Linked DNA regions of Homo sapiens: regions 1, 2, 3, 4 and 5 are each linked to region 6. Evidence: promoter capture Hi-C in 16 types of primary human blood cells and fetal thymus (Javierre and others, 2016). All regions are on one chromosome and are shown on one strand. The core of a region is centred on a gene start or on the middle of the fragment in contact, and the rest is flanking DNA. Distances in the headings are between cores, read along the strand shown.

Region 1 (3,781 bases), core at 966-3,465, 5.1 Mb after region 6:
AACTACTAAATTCTGAAGGGTGGTTACCTCCTATTGCCTTTGACTTTTAGATAATGATAATATTTTAAACTTATATTCTTAGTAAATGCAAAGCTTATTTTGAGATAGCTTGAATGGACTAGACCGAAAAAGAATTTAGCCTATTAGAATTAGTGAATAAGTAAAAGTAAAGAAGAATAATTTATAATTAGCAAATGAAGTCCCCGCCTAAGTATTTCTGAGCTCTACTTACTTTGTGATCATACTCTAAAAAATACATTGAAACATTTCTCCTAAATAGACAAACATACTCCTTTTTTTCCTGTTTATGTTACAGAACAAGCTCCCTCTTCCATGATAAGTATAGACTTAAATTCATTACCAAGTGGAATGATCACAAACTGAACTTGTGAATACATAACAACTACATTTGAAAAATAGCAATGAATTAAAGTCTAAAATAAATAATTATGATATAACTTGGTACACTTAATAAATCCATTCTGGAAGGCAGTCTTTAGTGTCTTTCTATTTGTGACATTGTTCATACTTAAACTTTGATGTTTTTATTGAAATGAGAGAGCCTCTGTTGCTGAGCAGGAAACCAATTAAGTAAAATCAGTAAGACTAGTCGGACATGCAAAAGGAGGTATAAATTTAATAAAATAAAGCCATTTAAAGTATGACATGTAGTTATTTACTTGGAGTCTGTTTTCAAATGAGTAATTTGTATAAGAAACCCTATAAGTCCTCAGAGTGACACTATGGAACTGATGAATGACTTTAGAGCAGCTTTCTTAAATTGGGAAGTCTTGCTGCTTGGGATCCAGAGGGAAGAGAGTAGACATGGCCATTGATCTAACTAAAAGTTTGGCAGTTTTTGTAGAATAAAGTACAGTATCTTGGTATGGTGTGAATACACATCCATTGTAGGTACCCAGAACTGAGTTTTACTCTTTTATATCTCTGTCTTATTCAAAGATTTCATTGTATGCTAAGAAATTTGAGTTATGTATTAAAAGCATCGATATGCTATTTATTCATTCTTGTGGCATTCATACAAAAGGACAGGCAAAGGACTTTGATTCCTGCAATATAAATAGGCAGCAGCATTCCTTAGACCAAGTGGATTTTCTTCTCACTTATGTATAATGATCAAAATAATTTACTACTAATAAAATGCACTAAATAACACAAAAGTACTAATTCTTTTGTTTAAAAAATTAGATTATTAACTCTGTTACCTTGTAAAGTTCTGTAATTTTATGGATGAGTAAGTAACAAGGAAGCTTCTCTTGTGAATTTCTATAACTTATAGAACATTAATGCAATGGACGTTTCTTATTTTAACCAAAAAAATATCGAGAAGGGTAAAAATGCTTTTTCCTACTTTATGTTCTTTACCACAAGAAAGCTTTTAAGAAGGAAACTATAACTTCCTTATCACTCTAATAACCAAATACATTCATATCCTTTATATAAAAACACAACGTAATCTTTTAATAGGTGCTAATGTGGATAATATCTTTGATTCTGTAACTAATCTGGGATATACCTGTTAATATCTAATTTTGAACTCTATATAGACCTTTGTTTTCTTTTATCATGTATTTTGATTTTTATCTTGATATATTTACTATATTTTAGTCACTAGATCTTTAGTTTTATTAGATGAAACTGTTGAAAACTGATAATATGTTGATGTTGGGTTGTAAATTTAAGACTTTGACGTGGATAAGATTATAAATACATGTTAATGAAAAAGGATACCAAGTAATTTAGTTTCAGACCAAGGTGATCATTCATACTTTAAAATCTAAGTAGAATGAAACTCTGATATAGTAGAAAATATGTGACAGCAGGTTTTAAGTCACATTTGGTTTGCAGGCCTAAGATTGGTAGTGGTAAAGCTGCCTTGCCATCTAGTGGTAGTTTGCAGATGGCTCCACTTGTTCAGGGCCTTTTTCTAGACTTTCTATTTTTAGCAAGGCTGCACTGTAGCAAGCTGACCTAATGCTTTGACATAGTAATAACGCAATAAGAAAAAAAAATAGTAAGAAATTTCCTCTTTTCTCCATGGTGGTGTTATTGACTAAGGAAGGCTCCATATAAACAACATTCATAAAGCAACAAGGACAAAAAGCTCAAAGTGTATAATATTTTTGATATTTTAAAAGAAAAAATCAAAAATGAGAAAAATAATTATTTAATATGACACTCAAAACTAAAAAAGAAAACCAATAATATATGGTTTTATAAGTCCTGGTTAAATGTTTTTGGGAGATAGATGTTTATTTCTGGAAATAAATTCTGCATTTTGAAGATACCTTAGTATCTATATTCATCTACTCTGCTATTCCTATTCAGACTTCCTAAATCCAGCCGTTTATATACATATAGTTAAATAATCTACATGCCCTCTCAATTTCCTTCTGTTATTAGTCTTGGCATTACCTTCACTTCCAGTGGTTTGCCTTTCCTCTTATCTTTCTTGACTATGGTTGTTTCAGAAATTAGTCTCAGAAAGTACTCTAAGCCAGGAGAAACTCCCTTTCCCTCTTAGGAAGTTATAAATACCATCTTAGATCTTAGATAAATGAACCAAAAGATTACTTGTTATATCCTTCTTAGTTTGAATGAGTAGGGTACTGAAACTCTGAAGTAGAATTAATTTATTAGACTAGAATATCTAACAGCATTAATATATATAGTTTAAAAAAATTCAGACGTTAGAAATAGTATTTCTCAGAATTAAATACACCTAGGATTTAGATAGTGGAGGTGAGGAAGTTGGCTTATTTATCAAACCTCAAGAAATAAAAATTAAGTTTAATTTTCTTAAAAATATAATTTTGTATCTTTAAAGAACACAGATTCTAAATGTTGAAAATAGAACAGATCTTTCCCTGTTATAAAGATAAAAGCAACTAAAAAAACAAAGGTGCCTAACAGCTGCTGGCTTTGATAATGCTGTCCTGCAGTTGTGGTAATAGTTTTTCTGGCCTCAACTATTAGAACAAATTAAAACTGCCCAGCTTGAATAACTAAGTAAGCTTTTTTAAAAATTGCAATTCAGGCAACTAAAGACCCTACAGCAGTAACTGGATGGACAGAGAGCAAAGAAGGGAGTGTCAGGTATTCAGAGTCTTTACTTGGGTTTTCCAGTTAGAATCAAATGAAACACTTTCCTATTAGAAATCCAATTTTTTGTTGTTTATTTGTTAGCCAAACTGCGTATTTAGGAGAAATTTAGGCTGGTCATTCTAGACCAGTATTTGGTTTTCCTTTCACTTTTCATGCTACTCCTGCAAGCCAAAGATGTCCAACACATTTAGTATGAAACAATAAAGCATCATAGTTTAAAATCACATCTGAGATAAGAGCTTAGCTATTGTTCAGATCATTTGAAATTATAGTTTTTCTTTTGAAAATATTATTGAAAATTCTTCCGAGTGCTGTAGTTTTTATTGACATTTCTTGATAAAAAAAATTTATATAGAGAGGAAATTGTAAATATGCAAAGGCTATTTATAACACAATTTAATTTAGTTTTTATTTTAGTGTTGGTTACAGAAACAAAAATGCTCCACATTCTTTGGGGAATTAAAGATAAGGAACAGGCATTTAAATATACTATTAATTACATATTTAGGGGGAATAGATTTGTCTTAAGCATATATTAGAAAGACTTTAGCTTTTTAAAAGAATAACTTATTACAAGGTAGCGTTCAGGAACAATTTGTCTTATGTTCTATATCAGGGGTCAACAAAATTTTCCTGTGAAAGGCCAGATAGAAAATAT
Region 2 (4,227 bases), core at 528-3,027, 7.1 Mb after region 6:
AATGTGGAGTGCCGTGCAGGTTGCGAGCTGCCGGGTTTGCACTTCGAGGAGATTTTCCTGTGTAGTTTTTTTCCTAATGTGAGCGCAGGGAAGCCGTGGCATTACTGCTTTTGGGATTTTTATTCACGTGCACGTCGCGTTTGGTTGCTCGCTCCACCCCCGGAGACCTGGTGTGGTGGAGAAATTTGAACCCGCAGCCTTAGCTCCGAAAAGGCCGAGTTACCTGGCTCTCCCTGAGTGTCGAGGAGGACATGAGTGAAATGACCAGCGAACTCATTTTTTATAGGACTCGGTGAAGCCGGATTCTGCATTTCCCTACTTGTAGACTCATTTTGTGGAATAGAGTTGATCGCTGTCTCCTCCGCAAAGCATTTTAACTCGAATAAGCAAATGCCGCCTCTGTTTGAACGTTTTGGTATTTACAAGAGAGAAATCATTTTACCTAAGAGAACTAATTGAATTGGCAGCATCCTTGAAATACCTCCGGACAAGGATCTGGGGGTGGGGGTGGAAAAGCAACTGCGAAATAGCAGACGGAGAAATTCCTTTGGAAGTTATTCCGTAGCATAAGAGCTGAAACTTCAGAGCAAGTTTTCATTGGGCAAAATGGGGTAAGGATTTTTGTGCTTAACACAGCTTCGAATCTGTTTATGTATGTGTATTATTGAGCGGTGGTGGTGATTGTGTTTTGTGTTTTCAAACAAACTTGCCACCTTGCTAAGCTGGTCATACTTTAAAGAAATAGGCATGCTAACCTTTTAGGTTATTTTTGCATTTTTGTAGAGCGGTACCAGAGGTCATAATTTAAAAACACATATATCGTTTGTAACTTGAATATGGATTTGTGAGTAATGTTTACAAAGACAACGCATTCTACACTTTACTGGTCAGACTGCTGCATCAGTTTGTAATCAAAATCACATTATTTTAGCTTTTGCTGACGGTTATCTTTCAAAGAGAAGTACTGCATTCTCTCAGTACTTTTAGATAATCAGTTGCACAAAGGAACGATTTTAATGAGTGGTTAGACAACAGTCCTTGAAAGTGATCCAGAGTAAATTGTTGCCCTCACCGTGCCCTCTGTCTTGTCCTTGAATATTCAAAGCTAAAATGTATAGAATTGATTTACTGGGGCGTTAAAACGAAAATCTGAAATTCAGTCTTACTGATGCGGTCACCACGGTACGGGTGCATTTCGTAGGAAAAAGCTTTTTGTTTAAGGAACTTGTTCACTCCTTTTGTTTTTCGCTTTTAAGCTCAGCCCTTCAGTTTGAGTTAACAGTATCAGATCTACACCTTCCTTCGGACCCAGAGCCAACTGAGAGTGCATTTTCCAGTCTTTTATTAACTCTTCACACTGTGGGTTGATGAAATGCTAGTGACACTTCCTAATTTAAGCTGGAAACCCATAATATATTAATGGAGCAATCTGATTTCATTGACAGGTTGTCACTGCTTTTTGGCAGAAGAACTTCCAGAATTTTCTCTTTTTGTGTGTGTGTGGTTGAACAAACACATCTGAAGTGTAGTTGAGGGGCATGTTTTAAAGAATGGACTCTGCAATTCATCGTGATGGTTTAGGTGTGTACACACGCTTGAAACTTTCTGAGGAAAGTTCTTGAATAGTACCTTCCTTTTGGAGTTAGAATTTGAAGTTTAACATGCATAACTTTGAAAATTTAGAGCATGTTGTAGGAGACGTTCCTCAGAAATTAATGACAAAGTTATAATGGTTTTAAAAACTTGAATGACAAGTGATGAGAATATATATAACTTGCATGATTTGGGGGTACCGCTAAGAGTAATTAAAATACCTCATTCTATTTCTAGCGCTGCTATTAGTAGCTTAGTGATCTGAGGCAAATTACTTGACCTCTGTGGACTCTATTTCTTACCTGTAAAATGAACGATTTAGAGATGACTTAAAGATTTCTCCAAACTGTAAAAAACGAATTGCTTTCTTTTTATTCTCCTCCTCATTTTAATGATCACTAGTTGGTTTCTGCAAGTCGATCTTTCTGATGGAGACCTTTTTCACTCTAAGCAGTTTAAGCGCTTAACGCTGAAAAATAATGGCATTTGAAAAATGTTTTGGATGAATTGCACCAATTTTAAATGAGAAAAATACTGAAAAATACTACTGTTCAAAACCTTAGAAATATGGCTTCCCTTGAGCATCTGCAGCTCTGTTTAAAACATGTTGGAGGAAAAAAAATCAAGCAGCAGTTTTTCATGTTGATGGCTGCATTTTGTCTAGACTGTGGAGTAGTAGCATCATGGAAGAAAATCAGTTTTCCAGAACCTTTAAGCTGCATGAATGCCTGTCATTTTACCAAGGGAAGCTTAGGATGAATTTTTTTTTCCCTGCCTGAGGTTTCTTTGTACAAATAGCACAGGAGGACCCCAGCCCCACAGCCCCATGCAGATGGCAGCCTGGCGGGGGGTCGCACCAGTCCTGTCCTCACGTTGGCAGATAGAGATATCTACTCTGAAGCCTCTGTAGGGGCCTGGGCACCTTTGGGAGCCTGAGCTGGAACTGAAGCTGGAGCTGCAGCCTGGGCCTTGGTTTGATCCTTGTCCTTGGCCTTTGGCCAGCACACCCTGAGCCCCTTGGCAATGCGGGCACGAGCATGCTTCCCAAGCTTGGGGTGGACAGTGTAGGCAAGTTGAGCTTGCGGCTGACACCCTTTGGGATCTTGGGCTTAACCTCCTTGGGCTTTAGGAGGGCCTTGATAGCCTTGGCATGTGCACTCATGGCCTTGGCACTGTTAGCCTGCATCTTCTTTAGGCCCTTCTTGTTGTGTTTCTTGGCAAACTGCATGTTCCTCAGGAACTTGGGGTCCACCCCCTTAAGAGATTCGTATCTTTGTGCTTCGGGTTTCTTGATACCATTTCTGTGCCATTTTTGGGACTGGTTGTGTGTGGTGTGGTTCTTGGACTTGGCCATGTCTGCACCTTAAGGCGCGGCTCCTGAAGCGCCTAGAATCTGAAGAGACAGGATGAATTTAATACTAAGGGGGCTGTTGTTTAAAGTGGGAAAGTTAGCACCACACATAACATGCATTTAGACACTTAGCATAATTAATTTGTTTATAAATGAATGTATCTGCCCTTTAGTTAATAAAGTTCTATATATGGACTGAGGAGAAAAAGGAGCGAGCATTTTGTGGTGCTATTTTTTTTTTTTTGGAAAGCCTGTATTTGGGGCTATGACCCTTTCTCATTGATAGTGACTTGAGTAGAGAGAGGAAGGGTAGATGGAAGTAGAAGAGCATACAGCAAAGGCATTTGCTGACGTTTCCACACTTTATGCGTATTTATGCCTAATAAATGTTTGTGGAATTAGCATAGCTGCCTGGACCTATTTCAAGCAAAAGGAAACAGGGCTTTAAATGGCTTTTAAAGCTTTACCTTGGCAATCCATAATTACCTTACTGTAATAGATATCTAAAATTTAATACTGTGGGTAAAGTGTTTCACATATTACAACCTTCTTTTTTTAAACTAATGTTAGGTTATAATAAGGATTTATCTTCGTCTTAATTGTAGATAATTATTGCAAGTCTAGGGGCAGTCTAAGCAAAGGAATTATTTTTAATAAAATCAGTGATTGGGCAGAAAAAAATTATGGCTCCCCTAATAGTAGTTTATGAACTTTTTGGAAATGGAGAAGAACAGCTGAAACTTGACAGTTGGCAAAGTCTGTCAAAGTATCTTGGATGTTGCATGAACTGTTAATTGCAGTGAAGGCAACTAAAGTATGGGTTTGTAAAATAGGTGTATCAGATCCCCTAAAAATTAAGGCATTCATGTATGTAAAATGAAGTCTCTGAAAAGTTTTGAAGCCTCAGTGAGGAGCCCCTGTTAGGTATGACCCCCACCCCCACCTCCAAATAGTATCTCATAATGACAGCAGTGAGTCAGTAGCTATTTCAGAACTATCACAGTAGGCAACAGAAATCAAGTAACTTCAACCACTTATTTCATGAAACCCTTTGTTTTTACTTAGCTCATTTTGGCAACCTAGTGCCATCAGCAATGGTAAAGAATTCTTTCCCTCCCTTCCCTTATTAAGAGCTACTTATACATAAAATGGGGCTCTCCCTGCTAATGGAATCTGTTAATGCTGTTTCTGATTTATCTCACCTGCCTATGGGAACTTCTGGAGTCCTTCCTTCCCCTCTTTCCCCAAATAACTTCCAGAAGCATGGAAATGAGTGCTGCTAC
Region 3 (3,988 bases), core at 942-3,441, 7.5 Mb before region 6:
CTTGTCCTACACTAATCCTATTACTTTGAGGTCCTTTGGGGTCGGCTCAGAGGTGGGAGAAAAAGGCTATTATAAATTGGAATTGTTGTCCTCTCTGTAGCAAATGCCCAAATACCGGTGCTGTCATTAGGCACTTTAGTATAATTTTGGAGATTCATCCAAAATTCAGGAACTCTAACACTGACATTCTCTAGTACATGGGGTGAATGTCCCAGTCAGCATCTCACAATTCCCATGGATCTCCTCTTCTGGTGGCTTACTTCACACAACCTCATTCTGCTGGCTGGTTTGCTTCTTCTTTCTTTCTACTAGATTTGATTCTCTCCTTTTTCAAAAATAATTATACTTCAGTGTTGTGGGTTGAATTTTATCTTCCACAAAAGATATGGTGAAGTCTTTCCTAACCTCAACTACCTCCGAATGTGTCCTTATTTGGAACTAATGTCATCACAGAGGTAATCAAGTTAAAATAACGTCATTAAGGTTAGACTGAATCCAATATGACTTGTGTTCCTATAAAAGGGAAAACTTTTGATGCAGAGACAAGCACACAGGGAAAATGCCAAGTGAAGATAAAGGCAGAAATCTGGGTGACGCATCTACAATCCAAAGAACACCAAAGATAGCCAGCAAACTACCAGAAGCTAGGAGGAAAGCACGGAACAGATTCTCTCTCACAGTCCTCAGAAGGAACCAGCCCTGCCATGACCTTGATCTTGGACTTCTAGTCTTCAGAACTATGAAAAAATGAATTTATGTTGTGTAAGCCACCCAGTCTGAAATACTTTGTTATGGTAGGCCTAGAAAACGAATACACCCATCCATGTATGATCATGTCCACTAGCTGTTGGGAAGACATGACAGTTCTTATCTCCTTACTCTCTCATCAAAGGTACCCTCAGTAATTCTCTCGTCTTTAAATATTTTTAGGAAAGAGCCAGGTACTTGACTTTGAGACTGCCATTTATGAAACTCCAAGGTTATTGGCCAAGTGCTTTCTCCATCCCTTCAAAACAGTCTTTTACCATCTGCTGACTCAGTGGAGGTATGAGGTAGTGAAGGGCCAGATCATGCAGGACTTTATAGGCTTATAGAAATGGTTTTGGATTGTATTCTATTTGAGTGAGGAAACTTATTAAAGATTTTGATCAGGGAAGCAACAAGTTCTGGTATGAATTTTTAGAAGATATCCACAGCTGCCAATTGGAGACTAGATTGTAGGGAGGCAAAAACAGAAGCATGCAGAACAATCAATTACAGCATCTATTGTGGACTAGAATAGTTGTAGTAGAGATGCTGGGAATTGGATAGATTTAGGTTACCTTTTGAAGACAGGCAACAGATTTTCCTGAGGAATTGTGTGTGAAATACGAGAGATAAAGAATCAAAGGACAACCTGAACAATTGTAAGAATCAATGTGTCATTTAGTGAGATGAAGAGGTATGCAATAGGAGTAGCTTTTGGAGGTAGAAAATAAGAAGTTTGAAATGTATGTTGAATATTTTAATAGATATGTTGAATAAGAAGTTAGATATATGAATATGAAAATCAAAGAAATCGGGGCTGGATATGGATATTTGGAAGCCATCAGCATCGTGATGCCATATAATAGTGAAGGGAGTGGATGGGATAAACTCAGGAATAAAGGCAGATAAAGAAGGGAACACATCTCAGGCACATTAACATCTAGAGGTCAGGAAAAATTCAGCAAAGGAAAATCAAAGAGCTCCATAATTTCACAAAAGTCAAATGCAGAAAGTGTTTCAAGTTTTAAGAAAGAGGATGTTAAATCGTGTTAAGTGCTGCTGAATGGTTACAATAAAGACCGAGTTGCCCACTGGATTTATCAGAATTGTTTAAATTCTCAGATATCTGCACACAAACTCTTCTTTAGCTCTAACATTTAAACTATTTCAGAAGTTTCACATTTGAGTGTGCATAAGAAGTAAAGATCTAGAGTATAAGCATAACTTCATATATTCTGTACTTTGTGGGCCGTTTAGGGGATTTTCATGGTTTTTTTTTATCATTAGGGAGTTTTATCATAAAGGCTTAGTTTAGAAACAAATCTCTGTTAGGGATGCAGCTACAGCTTTCCACAGCTGTTTCCAACCTATCCAATTACTATTCAAGAGATCAGAAAAAGGTCAGGGTCAGAGAGCCTATCCTTTACATATTTCCTCTTTGTTGTCTTATCTTTACATAGCTCACAAGAAAGCTCACACTATTTTATTCTCTCTTTTCATAAAGGAATGGTGAGAAGAAATTTAAAAGAGAGACACTAAGTAGAAAATGGAAAGGTTCTCTAGGACTAAACTGAAGAAGACTGGTCTCTGTACTACTTAAAACTAATCACCTATTCCTGATGATTTCACTAGTATGACAGAGACTTAATTACCATTTCTCTTCCTTTGCCTACCACCTCTCATCCAAATAAAACTTATATAGGAGTCCATGTGAAATATTGTATAGTAAAGAATTGGGCCTTTCCTAAAGAGAGTTCTGGCCTGTGGCCTCAGATTCTGGGAAATAACCTATCATAGCTGGCAAAAGTGTTTTTGTTTAGGAAGACTGACTATGTCCAACAGTTTTAGGGTAGAGGCTCCCCAAGCTAGAAAGACCAACCACATGACTTAGAGGCTTTGGGTCATGTATCATCTGACCTGAAGACTGAGTTCCATATGGACAATGGATCAGTGATGCCTCCACAATGGAGCCCCTCAAAAATTCTGAATGTTGAAGCTCTCGTGAGCTTCCCTAACTATTCCCATTTAGGAAAATAAGTGCAGCTCACTGCCAGTGCTCATTTAATTTTACATAAACATGCTCTTTGAGGCTGAAGCAAGTCTGATTGATTTTCTATGTGAAAAATAAAATATGAAAACTGTTCTTGGAGTTATTTCTAAACGGAACTAACATCAGAATAGTCTGAATCATCAGAATGATCTCTTTCAGAAAAATCAGATTCATCAATTGAATCTTCAGCCAACAACTGTTTGAGAATGATGTTAACATCACATGTAGGAATGCTTCATTTTCTAGGATTTGACATTTTCAGCAATACAGAATTACTATATTTGCAAATGGAAATGCCACTACTAAAATTTGAATGCTATAAATAGAATGTCTTTTGTTTCAAAAGTTGATATACTAGAGTGATATGAAAATAATAATAAAAGCAAGATACTTCATGGCAAATGCATTAGTCCATTTTCACACTGCTGATAAAGACATACCAAGGACTGGGCAATTTACAAAAGTAAGAGGCTTAATGGACTTATGGTTCCACATGGCTGGGGAGGCCTCACAATCATGGTGGAAGGTGAAAGGCACATCTCACATGGCAGCAGAAAAAGAAGAGAACTTGTGCAGGGAAACTCTCCTTTTTAGAACCATCAGATCTCATGAGACTTATTCACTATCATGGTGACAGCAGGGAAAGACCTGCCCTCATGATTCTGTTACCTCCCACTGGGTCCCTCCCATAACACATGGGAATTCAAGATGAGATGTGGGTGTGGACACAGCCAAACCACGTCATTCTGCCTCTGGCCCCCTCCCAAATCTCATGTCCTCCTATTTCAAAACCAAGCCAATGGTCCCCCAAAGTCTTCACTAATTTTAGCATTAACTCAAAAGTCCACAGTCCAAAGTCTCATCCAAGATAAGGCAAGTGCCTTCAGTTTATGAGCCTGTAAACCTAAAAGTAAGTTAGTTTCTTTCTAGATACAATGGGGTACAGACATTGGGTAAATACAGCCATTCCTAATGGGAGAAATTGGCCAAAACAAAGGGGTTACAGGGCCCATGCAAGTCCAAAATCCAGCAGTCAAATCTTAAAGCTCCAAAATGATCTCCTTTGACTCCGTGTCTCACATCCAGACTATGATGATGCAAGAGGTGGGTTCCCATGGTCTTGGGCAGTTCAGTCCCTGTGGCTTTGCAGAGTACAGTCTCCCTCCTGGCTGCTTTCATGGACTGGTGGTG
Region 4 (4,091 bases), core at 1,311-3,810, 7.0 Mb after region 6:
GTAGGCTTCAAGTAGAGGAAAATCATTCCGACGCATTCGTTCTATGCTCACCAATATAGGTATTCTGAAAGACATCTAGAGTTGAGGAAGTAAATGAAACGCCTATGAATTTCTATGCCTTTTTCTAATACATTTCACATTGATTTTGATGAAAATAAAAATGACATCAAAACAATTATCATAAACAACATAATCATTTTTTTAAAGAGACTGTAGAGTTTCACAAAATACAGTAAAACTATTACTGTAACAGAAATAAGGGGACCTCCACAAAATTTTAAATCATTTTCTTCATACTCTGAATGAAAGGTTTCTTAAGTAGAGATTAGCTATATAAAACGTTACTCCACATTAACTATGGTCTTCTACCATCTCCTATGTGACAAATTTTATGATAGATACATAAAATCCAGATATTGGCAATATCCAATTTTCCTTACCTTAAAAGTTATCAGTTCCACAATCTGTACTTGACCATGAAAGAGTATACTGGTACTTTCTTTACGGAGAAAACCTTAAAGACGGTTTCCTAAGGTGGACCCAATGGGAAATTACACAGGTTTACATGAGACAAGGTAGTAAAAGAGTAGATTAATTCGGCCGGGCACAGTGGCTCACGCCTGTAATCCCAGCACTTTGGGAGGCCGAGGCGGATGGATCACCTGAGGTCAGGAGTTGGAGACCAGCCTGGCCAACATGGTGAAACCCTGCCTCTACTAAAAATACAAAAATTAGCCAAGCATAGTGGCACGTGCCTGTAATCCCAGCTACTCGGCAGGCTGAGGCAGGAGATCGCTTGAACCCAGGAGGCAGAGGCTGCAGTGAGCCAAGATAGTGCCATTGCACTGTAGCCTGGGTGACAAGATCAAGATTCCGTCTTGCAAAAAAAAAAAAAAAAAAAAAAAAAAAGATTAATTCCTAGTAATTTCTAGTTATAAAGTATTTGGTCCTGGAATTTGCAACCTGGAATTTCTGTCCTCAACTTGACCTCTCCTCCAACAAATTAGAGAACACTCAAGGTTATATATAATTCCTTCATCAGGATTCTTTAGAAAGCAGAATATACCTAGAATGAAAACCAGAAATTTACTGGCTAAACCAAGATACTGTCCATTTTGTCCAAATACCTTTGATATCTCAAACCCACTTTTCTCCACAATACGAAAAATCCAGTTCCTAAATCCTGCCAACCCACTGTGAAAACTACTTCCAGGTTTTGAACAGGATATTCCTTTTGGTTAAGAATTAAATTACACCCAAGTGTTCAAAAAAATAATCTAGTCACATGGCTCCAAATGGGCATTTCTTAAACAACTCATAAACGGCCTATTTCACATGGAACCTGTTACAGGACATTTCCAGAACAGACATAATTAGGGCTATTCACACCAACAAAGTAACGTCACTATTACTGGCTATTAATCAGTATAAATTAATAGCCTTATGGCTGTTAATCAGTACGTGTTAGAAGCCTGGTGGTACTGAACCATACAATATGAAGATATTTACAAAAGTTACTATGTTACCTGTAATATAAAAACACAGATTTAGTAATCAGTTACAATCTCTTTCTTCACAAAATCATACACTGCACATGTGTTATTTAGCTTGTGTTTTACAGTTTCCCTTTGTTTCTTCTCTGTTCACCCTAATGAAAAATATCTGCTACTTTAAACAAAGAGTTGAAAGAGATAAGACAAGTAATTTAGAGAATCCATAAGTTTTGAGACATATAAGCCTTTCGTGTTCTCACCTTGAGAGACGAAGAGCTTTTCTACAAAGGCTGAACAAGAAAAGAAACGCACACAACAGTCTTAACCTGTGCATTTTCCTATAAAGTGAAAAGCTGAAGCAATTTCATGCCATTTAATTAAGGCTTAAAAGATAAATGCCTTTTAAATTTTTTAATTAATCCAGCTACGTACCTTAGTTCTTCACCACCCTTTGAAACACCATGCAAGGGTCCCAAGACTATCTTCCTCTTTTGGTCCTGGAGTGGTGGACGAGGCAGTACGCGAGGAATAGAAAACGAGTAAGCAAAGTAAGCGGTCCTAAGATTCTTCAAAATGTACAGCAGCCCAGATGCCGCCCATAAATTTGGAATAACCAAGAGATACTGCTGGAACCTCCCACGCAAAACAAAACGCTACCGTTTCGGAAAAGTTTCCCGTGCCCCGCCGCCGACCTGGGCCTACACTGCTGCGTTCCTCTCCGAAACCCCCTAAACTCACAGGTGTCCTCCGGGAAGGGCTAAGCAGGGCCTACCCGCACTGCCCGTTCAGAAGTTCTAAGGCCCGAGCTGGGCGTACTTGGTCGTAGCTTTCTCCCGAACCAAAGGAGGTAGTGGTGGCCCGTGGGACAGCTAGGCCCAGCTCCGGCTCCGGCTGAGATCTAACCCCCCTCACGGCTGCCAGGGGAGGAGCAACACAAGAAAAGGTAGGGGCTGCAAGGATATAGAAGGTTGGGGGCGGTGGCAAAAAGCGGAAGAGCAAAAAGTCGCCGAAAAAGCGGCGTAGAAAACCCTGTCAAAGACACCCGGAAGACCGACGTGACCCCGGATGAGAATAGGCAGCGGGGAGCGAAAGGTCACACTTCCGGTGGCCGCCTCCCTCCCACCCCCCAACCCCCCCCACCCCCCAACCCCCCCCACCCCCCCCACCCCGCCTATGAGCGCTTTGCTTGAATGCGCAGGCGCAAGACAGCCGGATTTGAAAGGAGTTTCTTAACTGCTGCCAGCACAAGTTGGGAAAGGGTTAGGACTGCACTAAGAGGGGTGGAGCAGGCAGTCGCCGGAGGGCCACTTCTGGGCCCCTTGCCTGAACTCACGTGCAGCCGTTCTAGCTGTAACAGACGTTTTCTGTGGGTCCTTCGTGTGTTGGCCGAGTGACTTGTCCCCAGAGAAGCCTTTCTTTAACCAGTGTTCCCCTAATCTTCTCCCCCGGAGCAACATTAAACTTTATCTGTTCTTTTGCCCCTCCAGTAACCTGAGAGCTTCTTTGGAAGGAAAATGCTTTCTTTGGCCGGACGCGGTGGCTCACCCCTGTAATCCTAGCACTTTGGGAGGCTGAGGCGGGCGGATCACGAGGTCAGGAGTTCGAGACCAGCCTGGCCAACATGGTGAAACCCCATCTTTACTAAAAATACAAAAATTAGCCGAGCTTGGTGGCGTGCGCCTGTAACCCCGCTACTCAAGAGGCTGAGGCTGGCGAATCGCTTGAACCCGGGAGGCGGAGGTTGCAGTGAGCCGAGATCGTGCCACAGCACTCCAGCCTGGGCGACAGAGCAAGACTTTGTCTCAAAAAAAAAAAAAAAAAAAAATGCTTTCTTTCTCTCTAAAGCCTGGACTTAGCGCCTTGCCCATAGTAATAGCTGGTATTCACTAATTCAACAAATATTTATTGATATCGCCTCTTGAGTGAGCTTTAATAATTTGTAGAAATGTCTAAATTGTTTAATAATGCAAATCTGTTAGCTGTATTCCTTTATTGTCCACTTAATGTCTATAAAATCTGACCCCTCAGGTTCTGAAATTGGTAATTTGTGTGTCATCTTTTTTTCTGATCGATCTGGTGAGGGGCTTCTCGGTTTACGGATCTCAAATCTCAAAGCCCGTTTTTGCTTTCTTGGATTTTCTCTACTGGTTTTCTGTTTTCTATTTTATTGATTTCTGCTCTTATGTTTATTGTTTCCTTTACTCTGCTATTTTTTAATTTTTAAATTTCTTGTTTTGTTTCTCTAGTTTCTTAACTCAGAAACTGATGACCATTAATTTTAGATGTCTCTTGTTTGTACAGGCATTTGGTGTGATAAGTGTCCCTCTATACTGTTTTAGCTACATTCCACATATTTTGATATATTGTATTTTCATTTTCCTTCATTTCAAAATACTTTGTAATTTCCCTATTGCTTTCTTTTTTTGACCATGGGTTTTTTGTAAGTGTTGGTCTGCAAATGTGGAGGAGTTTTCCAGGTAGCTGCCTGTTACTGATTTCTGATTTAATCCCATTGTGATCAGAGAAGGTACTTCGTACACTATTAATAATTTTAAACTTATTGACACTTGTTCTGTGGCCCAGAGTATATAGTCTGTC
Region 5 (4,334 bases), core at 39-2,538, 5.3 Mb after region 6:
ACCAGTGACATTCTGACATCTTAAAAACCTGTCAGTGATATTTTTAGCTGCTTTAGGATCCTTACAATAAGGCCCATGAGTAATAGGATTGTGAGGGTTTTTTTCTTTATACATAATTTTACAGATATTCTTTAATGGGTGTGTATTACATTTAGAATCATTATTAAAGAGTTATTTTTAATCCATGGGAGTTTTGACACAGCACATGAGAATTTCTAATTATAGACTCATAGAAATACATACCTCTTAAAACCCTATCTTCTTGTTTTACAGATCAATAAATTAAGTTTCAGAGAAGTTAAGTGATTGCCATAGAACACAATGCTAGTGACTGAATTTTGTTAACTAACATGCTTTCATTTGCATTGTTGGTTTTCTCAGTAACAAAATTACAAGCAATACTGCTTTATTTCAGAAGTGAAAGAAAATCTATTGGAAGTGTGGAGCAAGAGAAACCTATTAGTGGAAGTTACTTGAGGTTCCTAGGCAATAAGGAATAGGAATAATATAAAGTTTGTGTTACCCTCTGAAAAAGCTTGAATCTCTTTCATCTTCTTTGCTTAAACGTGATAAAGAATAGTGTTGGAACACTAATCACAAAAATGATGTATCCTTCTGACTCATCTTACCATCTTGTTGTATTTCTCAAATTTGAGTTCCTAATCATGTGTTTCGGTGGTTAGGATGTTAAGTGCTTCAAATGAATACTTAAACCTAAATTACAAACAAGTGGCAAGATTTGCAAGCTCTCCTTTATTCTCTGAAATGCGTACTTCCTCCTCCTTATGTCTGAGGAAATCATACCAGATACGGGCCTTAGACTGTCCATTCCAAGGAACAATGAGAGGTCTTGCAGTTACAAATGGAATTCTGTAAAATAGGATAGGTGAGGAAAAAGCACTTTTTGATGTCTACTATTTGCCAGTACCTTAAGTGCTAAATATATACAAATGACAGAGAGGTCCCTGCCCTTAAGCAGCCAAGAGCCTGTGAGAGTAAGACAGATTGCTAAACCACTAATAAGCTGATGTTATAATTAGTGAGGGAATTATGGTGATATAGAGATTACAGATAAAATATTTCTTCCTGGGAAGTTTTAAGAAAAACTTCACAGTAGAATGTGTTGCAGACAACTGGAGAGAGGGATCAGGGAGGTGAGGAGGAGGAGTCAGTAAAAAATAAATACATGTACTCGATCTAAAATCCTCTCCAATAAGCTGAAATGCTTTTGCAGATAAGACTGACACACGCTGACATATACACAAAAAAGAGATAAAAATTTATGCTAGTACTTCATAAAAGGTCAAAGTGAACATAACCAAGTGGCAAAAATATTTCGTACTGATTTAGTAACTACTATATAAAATAATCTACCAGTAAGTCTGGGTAAAAACAGTACAGTAATTAATGATTTCAGATGAACTAATTTAAGAGGACCACATACGAGGAAAAACATAACCTGCCCAAAACTATGGCATAGCAAATAAATGATCATAGGAAAAGAGGTCCCACAAATATTTAAGAAACATTTATGGACCAAGAAGATGTAGAAAGTCACATTTACATATATTCCGGAAGATGTGAGAGTCTAATGGTGAGCTCTATGAAGATGAATTGGACACAGTTCATACCCCCAGAGGAATCTGGTAAAGAAGACAAACAGGGCCAGGCGCGGTGGCTCACTTCTTTAATCCCAGCACTTTGGGAGGACGAGGCAGGCGGATCACCTGAGGTCAGGAGTTCGAGACCAGCCTGGACAACATGATGAAACCTCGTCTCTAGTAAAAATACAAAAAAAAAAAAAAAAAAAAAAGCCAAGCGTGGAGGCAGGCACCTGTAATCCCAGCTACTCAGGAGGCTGAGGCAGGAGAATCGCTTGAATCTCGGAGGCAGAGGTTGCAGTGAGCTGAGATCGCTCCATTGCACTCTAGCCTGGGTGACAAGAATGAAACTTTGTCTCAAAAAAAAAAAAACAGATTTTAAATTCCTCAAGGAGCAAATGAAGGAAGGCACTTGTGTAGTTTTGCCCAGGGAAGCTTTATATGGAAGTCACCAGCAAGTTTTCAGAGAGGAAGATTAGCTACACTGAGTGTATGTGGCTTTTAGATCTCTAAACAGTATGTCTTGGAGAAGTACAGCAAACCAGATAGAGATATATATATATAATAGATACATATAATTATATATCTATTATATATAACCAATATTATATATAATAATATAGATATATTAATCTATTATATATAGTATATATAAGATATATACTATATATTATAGATATATCTATTATCTTATATATACTATACATAATTAAATATATATTAGATATATAATATATATCTAATATATAATAGATATATATCTATTATATATAATGTATAATATATAATATGTAGATATATCTATTATATATAATATATATTATATGTAGATATATCTATTATATATAATATGTAGATATATCTATTATATATAATATATAATATATGTAGATATATCTATTATATAATATATAATATATATTATATGTAGATATATCTATTAAATATAATATATAATAGATATAGATATATAATAGATATATCTATAATATGTAATAGATATATCTATCATATGATATATGATATATATCATATGATAGATATATAATAGATATATCTATTATATATGATATATAGACATATATAGACGTATCTAATGATATAGAGAGATATCATATATGATATATCTATTTTATATATATTATATATATATAAAATTTTTAAAAATTCTTCTTTTAAATACTAAGAAGGACTTTTAAGACCTAATCCTAAGGTACAGTATTCAATCTACATGTGTTGCCACTTTTCCTGTATTGGATGTTGGTTTTTAAAACTGAAATTTAGAATGGTAGTGATGGTTATGCAGCATTGTGGATATGCTTAATGCCACAGAACTGTACACTTAAAATGACTAGTAGTAAATTTTGTTACGTATGTTTACCACAATATAAAAAAAATTTTTTAAAAACTTGTGTTTAACCATTTTATGAGTAGTATTTACTTGATTCTCTTGAAGCTCAGTTTTACATCTTTCTCCTTTATTTACTACTTAAGTTACTCTTAAATGTAAGAATCAAGGTGTTAACTATGTATACTTTCCCTTATCACAAAATCTGCAAACAATTTGAATTTAGAATGTGCAATTTGTGAAACACAGCATTCTTAAGAATGTGCATGTTTGTTACATGGGTATATTGCATGATGCTGAGGCTTGGGTTATGATTGATCCCATCACCCAAGTACTGAACATAATACCTAATAGTTTTTCAACCCTTGTTCTCCTCCCTCTAGCAGTCCCCAGTGACTGTTGTTGCCATCTTTATGTCCATGAATACCCAGTGTTCAGCTCCTACTTATAAGCAAGAACATATGGTATTTGGTTTTCTGTTCCTGTGTTAAGTCACTTAACATAATGGCCTCTAGCTTCATCCATGTTGCTGCAAAGGACATGATTTCTTTTTATGGCTGCATAGTATTCCATGGTGTATATGTACATATTTACTTTATCCAGTCCACCATTCATGGGCACCTAGGTTGATTCTGTGCCTTTGCTATTGTGAATAGTGCTGCAGTGAACATATGAGTGCATGTGTCTTTATAACAGAACGATTTACATTCCTTTGAGACCCAGGACTGCTGGATCAAGTGGTAGTTCTCAGTTCTTTGAGAAATCTCCAAATTGCTTTCCACAGTGGCTGGTCTAATTTACATTCACACCAACAGTGTATTAACATTCCCTTTTCTCTGCAGCCTCACTAGCATCTGTTGTTTTTGACTTTTTTTTTTTTGGTCTTTTTTTTGAGACGGAGTCTCACTCGGTCGCCAGGCTGGAGTGCAGTGGCACGATCTTGGCTCACTGCAACCTCCCCCTCCTGGGTTCAAGTGATTCTCCTGCCTCAGCCTCTTGAGTAGCTGGGACTATAGGCATGCGCCACCATACCCGGCTAATTTTTGTGTTTTTGGTAGAGACAGGGTTTCACCGTGTTGGCCATGATGGTCTCAATCTCTTGACCTCGTGATCCACCCACCTCAGCCTCTCAAAGTACTGGGATTACAGGCATGAGCCACCGTGCCCAGCCTGTTGTTTTTTGACTTTTTAATCACCGTTCTGACTGGTGGGAGATGGTATCTCATTGTGGTTTTAATTTGCATTTCTCTGCTGATAGTGATGATGAGTATTTCTTCATATGTGTTGGCCACGTGTATATCTTCTTTTGAGAAGTGCCTGTTCATGTCTTTTGCCTGTTTTTTTAAAGGGGTTTTGTGCTTGTTCAATTGTTTACATTCTTTATA
Region 6 (3,808 bases), core at 841-3,340:
AGTATTGTAAGCCAATTTAAAAACTAGGAGCACAGTGACCACTTTCTAAAAGAAATGGAAATGTTTATAGTGTTTTAAAAGACACATTCTCAGCTACTGTTCTAGTAACAGTGTTCAAGATAGAGTAACATTAATCAGTTTATCAGTTTTACCTGGTTAAAAGTGTGAGTTCTGCAACAAGAAACTGCCTGGGCAAGAGTCCTGGTCCACCATTATACTAGTTATGAGATGTTGAACAACTTAACATCTCTGTGTCTCAGATGGGGTTACTATCATCCGCCTCACAAGCTTGCTAGAGAACATGAGATATCGATGTAAAGTGTACCTGATAAGCAGTAGTATTCAATAAACACTGGCCATTATTGAAATATTTTTATATAGGTTTACAACTAGTCTCCACCAATGCCACATCTACACATAACCTCAGGAATCAGCCCTACACAACAATGTATTTGTGTGTGTGTTCTGGGTGATGGGGAAGAGGCTACTTAATAAAAAGGCCTGCTTTAACATGATTAGAAATCCACTAACTACCTGTTAAATGGAGGAACTGAAACATCCTTATGTTTTAAGCAGTTGGTGTCTTACTACAAGGAAGGGTGTAGCAAATGCAGATCCAAAGTACAAACACATCTTAGCTAGTAACGACCACTTGTTTTCCACTGAAAATGGCAAATTCTGTTGGAAAAAAAGAGAAAAAGTAATCGAAATTGAATCTCAAATCATCTGCTTAATAATCAAAATACAAGTATACAGGAAATGCTAGTTATATTTTACATCATCAGGTTAACATATGCCATAAATCATAACATCGTTTTAAACATTTATCTTTCAAATCCTATGACCTTCATCACAAAACACTACATGGCAAGAAATAATCTGGCTTTACTAAGCACTAGGCAATGAATGGTCTTGAGGACTCAAACGTCAAATAGTGAGAAGTTTCTTACTTTAGAAAATCGAAAAAACTACTGTCCTAAGTAGTCACCTTAGAAGATACATGGCAATGTTAAGTGCAATACAGCTCTTTTTTTTTCTTTTTTTTTTTTTTTGAGACGGAGTCCCGCTCTGTCCAGGCTGGAGTGCAGTGGCCCGATCTCGGCTCACTGCAACCTCCACCTCCCGGGTTCAAGCGATTCTCCTGCCTCAGCCTCCCGAGTAGCTGGGATTAGAGGCACACACCACCACGTCCGGCTAATTTTTTTGTACTTTTTAGTAGAGACAGGGTTTCGCCATGTTGGCCAGGCTGGTCTGGAACTCCTGACCTCAGGTGATCCGAACGCCTTAGCCTCCCGATTACAGGCGTGCGCCACCGCACCTGGCCCACAGTTTTTTTTGTTTGTTTGTTTTTCATTACCAAGCACCTTCTCTGGCCTTTATGACTAGGCCTCGTGTGACCCTCCGAGATTGTTACTGCTATGTGGTTTAAGTTATTTACACCTGAGGCCAAACCCAGCCTTAACTGAGGTGAAGGGTTAGTACTTCTAACTTAGGCAGCTAGTTTAAAAAGCCTGTTCCATAACCAGAGGCCCTGATTTCCTCATGATTTTCCAATGACCTTCATTTCGGGTCCGATGACCTCCAGCTCGGATTTAACCAACACACCTACAGCCGTGGCCTCCCGGAGCCATCTCAGGGCTTTCTGCGGGGCGGGGGAGGGGGCGTCAGGTGGCTGATGGAGGCAGGGCTTCCGGATCTACCTGCCCATTCCTTTAGCGGCTACGCGCTAGGATGCCCAGCTTCCTCACTGGTCCTTGGGCTAAGTGGAATGCTAGTCTGCGTCTCAGCCTGGTTTCTGGCTATCATCTCCCACGCCACAGCCCGGAGGCGGCCTTGCAGGTGCGCGAGTCACAGCCAAGCGCCCCCTCCCCCAACGAAGCCGTGCCCCTTACACACTAACCTTCCCAGGGCCCTCCTCATAGTGGCTCCTACGGACCACAGAGGTTGTGAACCTCCGGATGCTCTGGCCCAACATACCGCTGCTGGAAGCTCTGCGAAAGGCGCAGAGAATGAGGACAGATGAAATGGCGGCACCTCACCAAGACCTTTTTTTTCACGACCTTGTTCCCCGGTGCGCAAGGACTGAAAAGAAAGATGGGAAATGGGGCGGAGCCTTGAGGAAACGCGACAAAGCGGAAATCGCCCTGGATTGTGGGAATTGTAGTTCAGACCATTGCGGAGCCTTATCAGCCCCCGAAGGATTGTGGGAAATGTAGTTTCGCGCCAGGCTTAGGTCTAGGATTCCTGGGGCCTGTTACCGGAAACGATTTTATTGAATCAAGTGAAGCAGTTTCACCCCGTATACTCTAGTCTGTTGAAAAGGACAATAAACCCATCCCTTTTCTCTTCTTTCTTTCTTTTTTAAAAATAAAGTATATGCTAGGTGTCAATGATTTCGAGGACTTTTGCCAATGCTGAGAGATATGTGCTAATGATCCTAGCTGAAGAAACAAAGCATAAACACAAGTAATCAAACAACGTGCAGCACAAAGGACTTCAGAGAGAAAACTGAAATGCTAAGGGAATGATCACTAAAGATAATGGGAATCGAATAAAAAAGAAGGAAGAACAAAGGGCAGGGAAAACTCAAGTCTGGTATGAGTACAGCATGTGTGAGGAGTAGAAGGGAAAAGTGGCCTCTGACACCTGGAGCTAGCCTGGACTAGGAACTGGTGTCCGCCTGATGAACGTACACAATTTCAGCAAGCATTAGCATCCAACAAGACCACTCTGACAGTGTTCATTAAGAAAAGAATATGATCACTGTGTAATCACATCTGAACACAGATAAAACATTGTCCAAGCCACGAAAATGACCGGACATCACCCTATCTGGTTTAATTTGATGACTTCTGCTTCTTTACCAATTACAATCTTAGCCTTGATCTAGCCTTTCTTCCTCCTAAGATTTGGTAAGGTAGCCAATATTAGGAGAAAAAAATCCCAAATCCAATAAGCATTTTCTAATATTTTACAGAGAACCCTTACTGCAATGAATAATAAACCCCGTTTGTCAATTACATGTGTGCTTCTGGTGGTCTTTGACCAGAAGGTATTGAGAAGAAACCAGTGATAAATGAACCTGGGAAAGTGGTGTTAGGTTAGATTGTGAAAGGCCCTGGTAACCTAAATGTTATGTTATTCATCTGTGGGGGAGTGTATATTGCCTCACGTGTCTCATTTATATAGCATTAGGAAACAATTCCAATAAGACCTAAGGTTTGCTTTGAAAAGGGCATAACATATATGCTCTTTTCGTCTTTTTTTTTTTTTTTTTTTTCAGTTTTTGGAAGAGAACAACCATGCCCCTCCCCCCCAAAAAAACACTTAAAAAAAACACTTAAATTCATATTTTGTTTCAACAAGTAGCTTCTTTTTGAGTAGGGGTTCATGAAATGCATCATAACTGGTGTCCTCTACCACCTAATTTATAGAAGTTATGTGACATTCCATTTTTTTTTAACATTCCGTTCACTGCCTTTACATATTAAAGAATTCTGATTTAACTATAATTGAGAAACTTTTTCACACTTAATATTTCTAGATTACACTTTTCAATCTAGTGTGAGTAATGTTATCTGTGGATTTGGTTCATTGTTGCTTCTAATTCACATTAATTGAGCCTCCATTGGGTATCTGGCTTTGAGTTAACTCTTTAGGGACCTGCAGGGCAGAGATTCCAGAATATGGTTTCAGAACTGTCTGCCTTCTCATGGGCTTTGTGGTAAGTTAAATACAAAAAAAAAAAATATGTTTGGCCGGGCGCGGTGGCTCACGCCTGTAATCCCAGCACTTTGGGAGGCCAAGG

What was found. The method cuts DNA at HindIII sites, captures the fragments that hold promoters and counts their contacts. A CHiCAGO score of 5 or more calls a contact.
Region 1: a contact is called between a fragment that was not itself captured here and the fragment with the promoter of COX7C in region 6, in 1 of 17 cell types (monocytes). The highest score is 6.5, in monocytes.
Region 2: a fragment that was not itself captured here is called in contact with the fragment with the promoter of COX7C in region 6 in 1 of 17 cell types (naive CD8 T cells); the score reaches 6.7 in naive CD8 T cells.
Region 3: a fragment that was not itself captured here is called in contact with the fragment with the promoter of COX7C in region 6 in 1 of 17 cell types (non-activated CD4 T cells); the score reaches 5.7 in non-activated CD4 T cells.
Region 4: a contact is called between the fragment with the promoter of TENT2 here and the fragment with the promoter of COX7C in region 6, in 1 of 17 cell types (naive CD8 T cells). The highest score is 6.7, in naive CD8 T cells.
Region 5: a fragment that was not itself captured here is called in contact with the fragment with the promoter of COX7C in region 6 in 2 of 17 cell types (non-activated CD4 T cells and monocytes); the score reaches 7.0 in non-activated CD4 T cells.

Annotation. Positions count from the first base shown.
Region 1 is chr5:81,505,280-81,509,060 of GRCh38, reverse strand. All of the region lies in intron 5 of SSBP2 (single stranded DNA binding protein 2), which reads left to right. Among named protein-coding and RNA genes, the nearest start is that of ACOT12, 110 kb to the right of the region's middle. RefSeq lists a silencer at 1,825-1,974. The HindIII fragment of the contact is 1,639 bases long and covers 1,396-3,034 here.
Region 2 is chr5:79,509,154-79,513,380 of GRCh38, reverse strand. HOMER1 (homer scaffold protein 1) reads left to right here. Exons shown (of 9, transcript NM_004272.5): 1 at 1-611. The coding sequence starts at 607. It also overlaps the pseudogene RPL29P15. Among named protein-coding and RNA genes, the nearest start is that of HOMER1, 2.9 kb to the left of the region's middle. The HindIII fragment of the contact is 1,134 bases long and covers 1,211-2,344 here.
Region 3 is chr5:94,117,000-94,120,987 of GRCh38, reverse strand. All of the region lies in intron 4 of LOC105379087 (a long non-coding RNA gene), which reads right to left. Among named protein-coding and RNA genes, the nearest start is that of ARB2A, 7.3 kb to the right of the region's middle. The HindIII fragment of the contact is 8,496 bases long and covers 1-3,988 here.
Region 4 is chr5:79,610,910-79,615,000 of GRCh38, reverse strand. TENT2 (terminal nucleotidyltransferase 2) reads right to left here and starts at 2,560. Exons shown (of 15, transcript NM_001114394.3): 1 at 1,926-2,560. LOC124901014 (a long non-coding RNA gene) reads left to right here and starts at 2,664. Exons shown (of 2, transcript XR_007058840.1): 1 at 2,664-2,859; 2 at 2,981-3,530. RefSeq lists an enhancer at 1,756-2,955. The HindIII fragment of the contact is 9,139 bases long and covers 1-4,091 here.
Region 5 is chr5:81,294,093-81,298,426 of GRCh38, reverse strand. The region is part of intron 1 of CKMT2-AS1 (CKMT2 antisense RNA 1); the gene reads left to right. Among named protein-coding and RNA genes, the nearest start is that of CKMT2-AS1, 5.3 kb to the left of the region's middle. The HindIII fragment of the contact is 1,501 bases long and covers 538-2,038 here.
Region 6 is chr5:86,616,223-86,620,030 of GRCh38, reverse strand. COX7C (cytochrome c oxidase subunit 7C) reads right to left here and starts at 2,090. Exons shown (of 3, transcript NM_001867.3): 1 at 1,901-2,090; 2 at 535-678. The coding sequence starts at 1,975. The coding sequence ends at 562. RefSeq lists enhancers at 1,000-1,665, 1,963-2,052, 1,985-2,279, 1,666-2,331, 2,343-2,422. The HindIII fragment of the contact is 5,230 bases long and covers 291-3,808 here.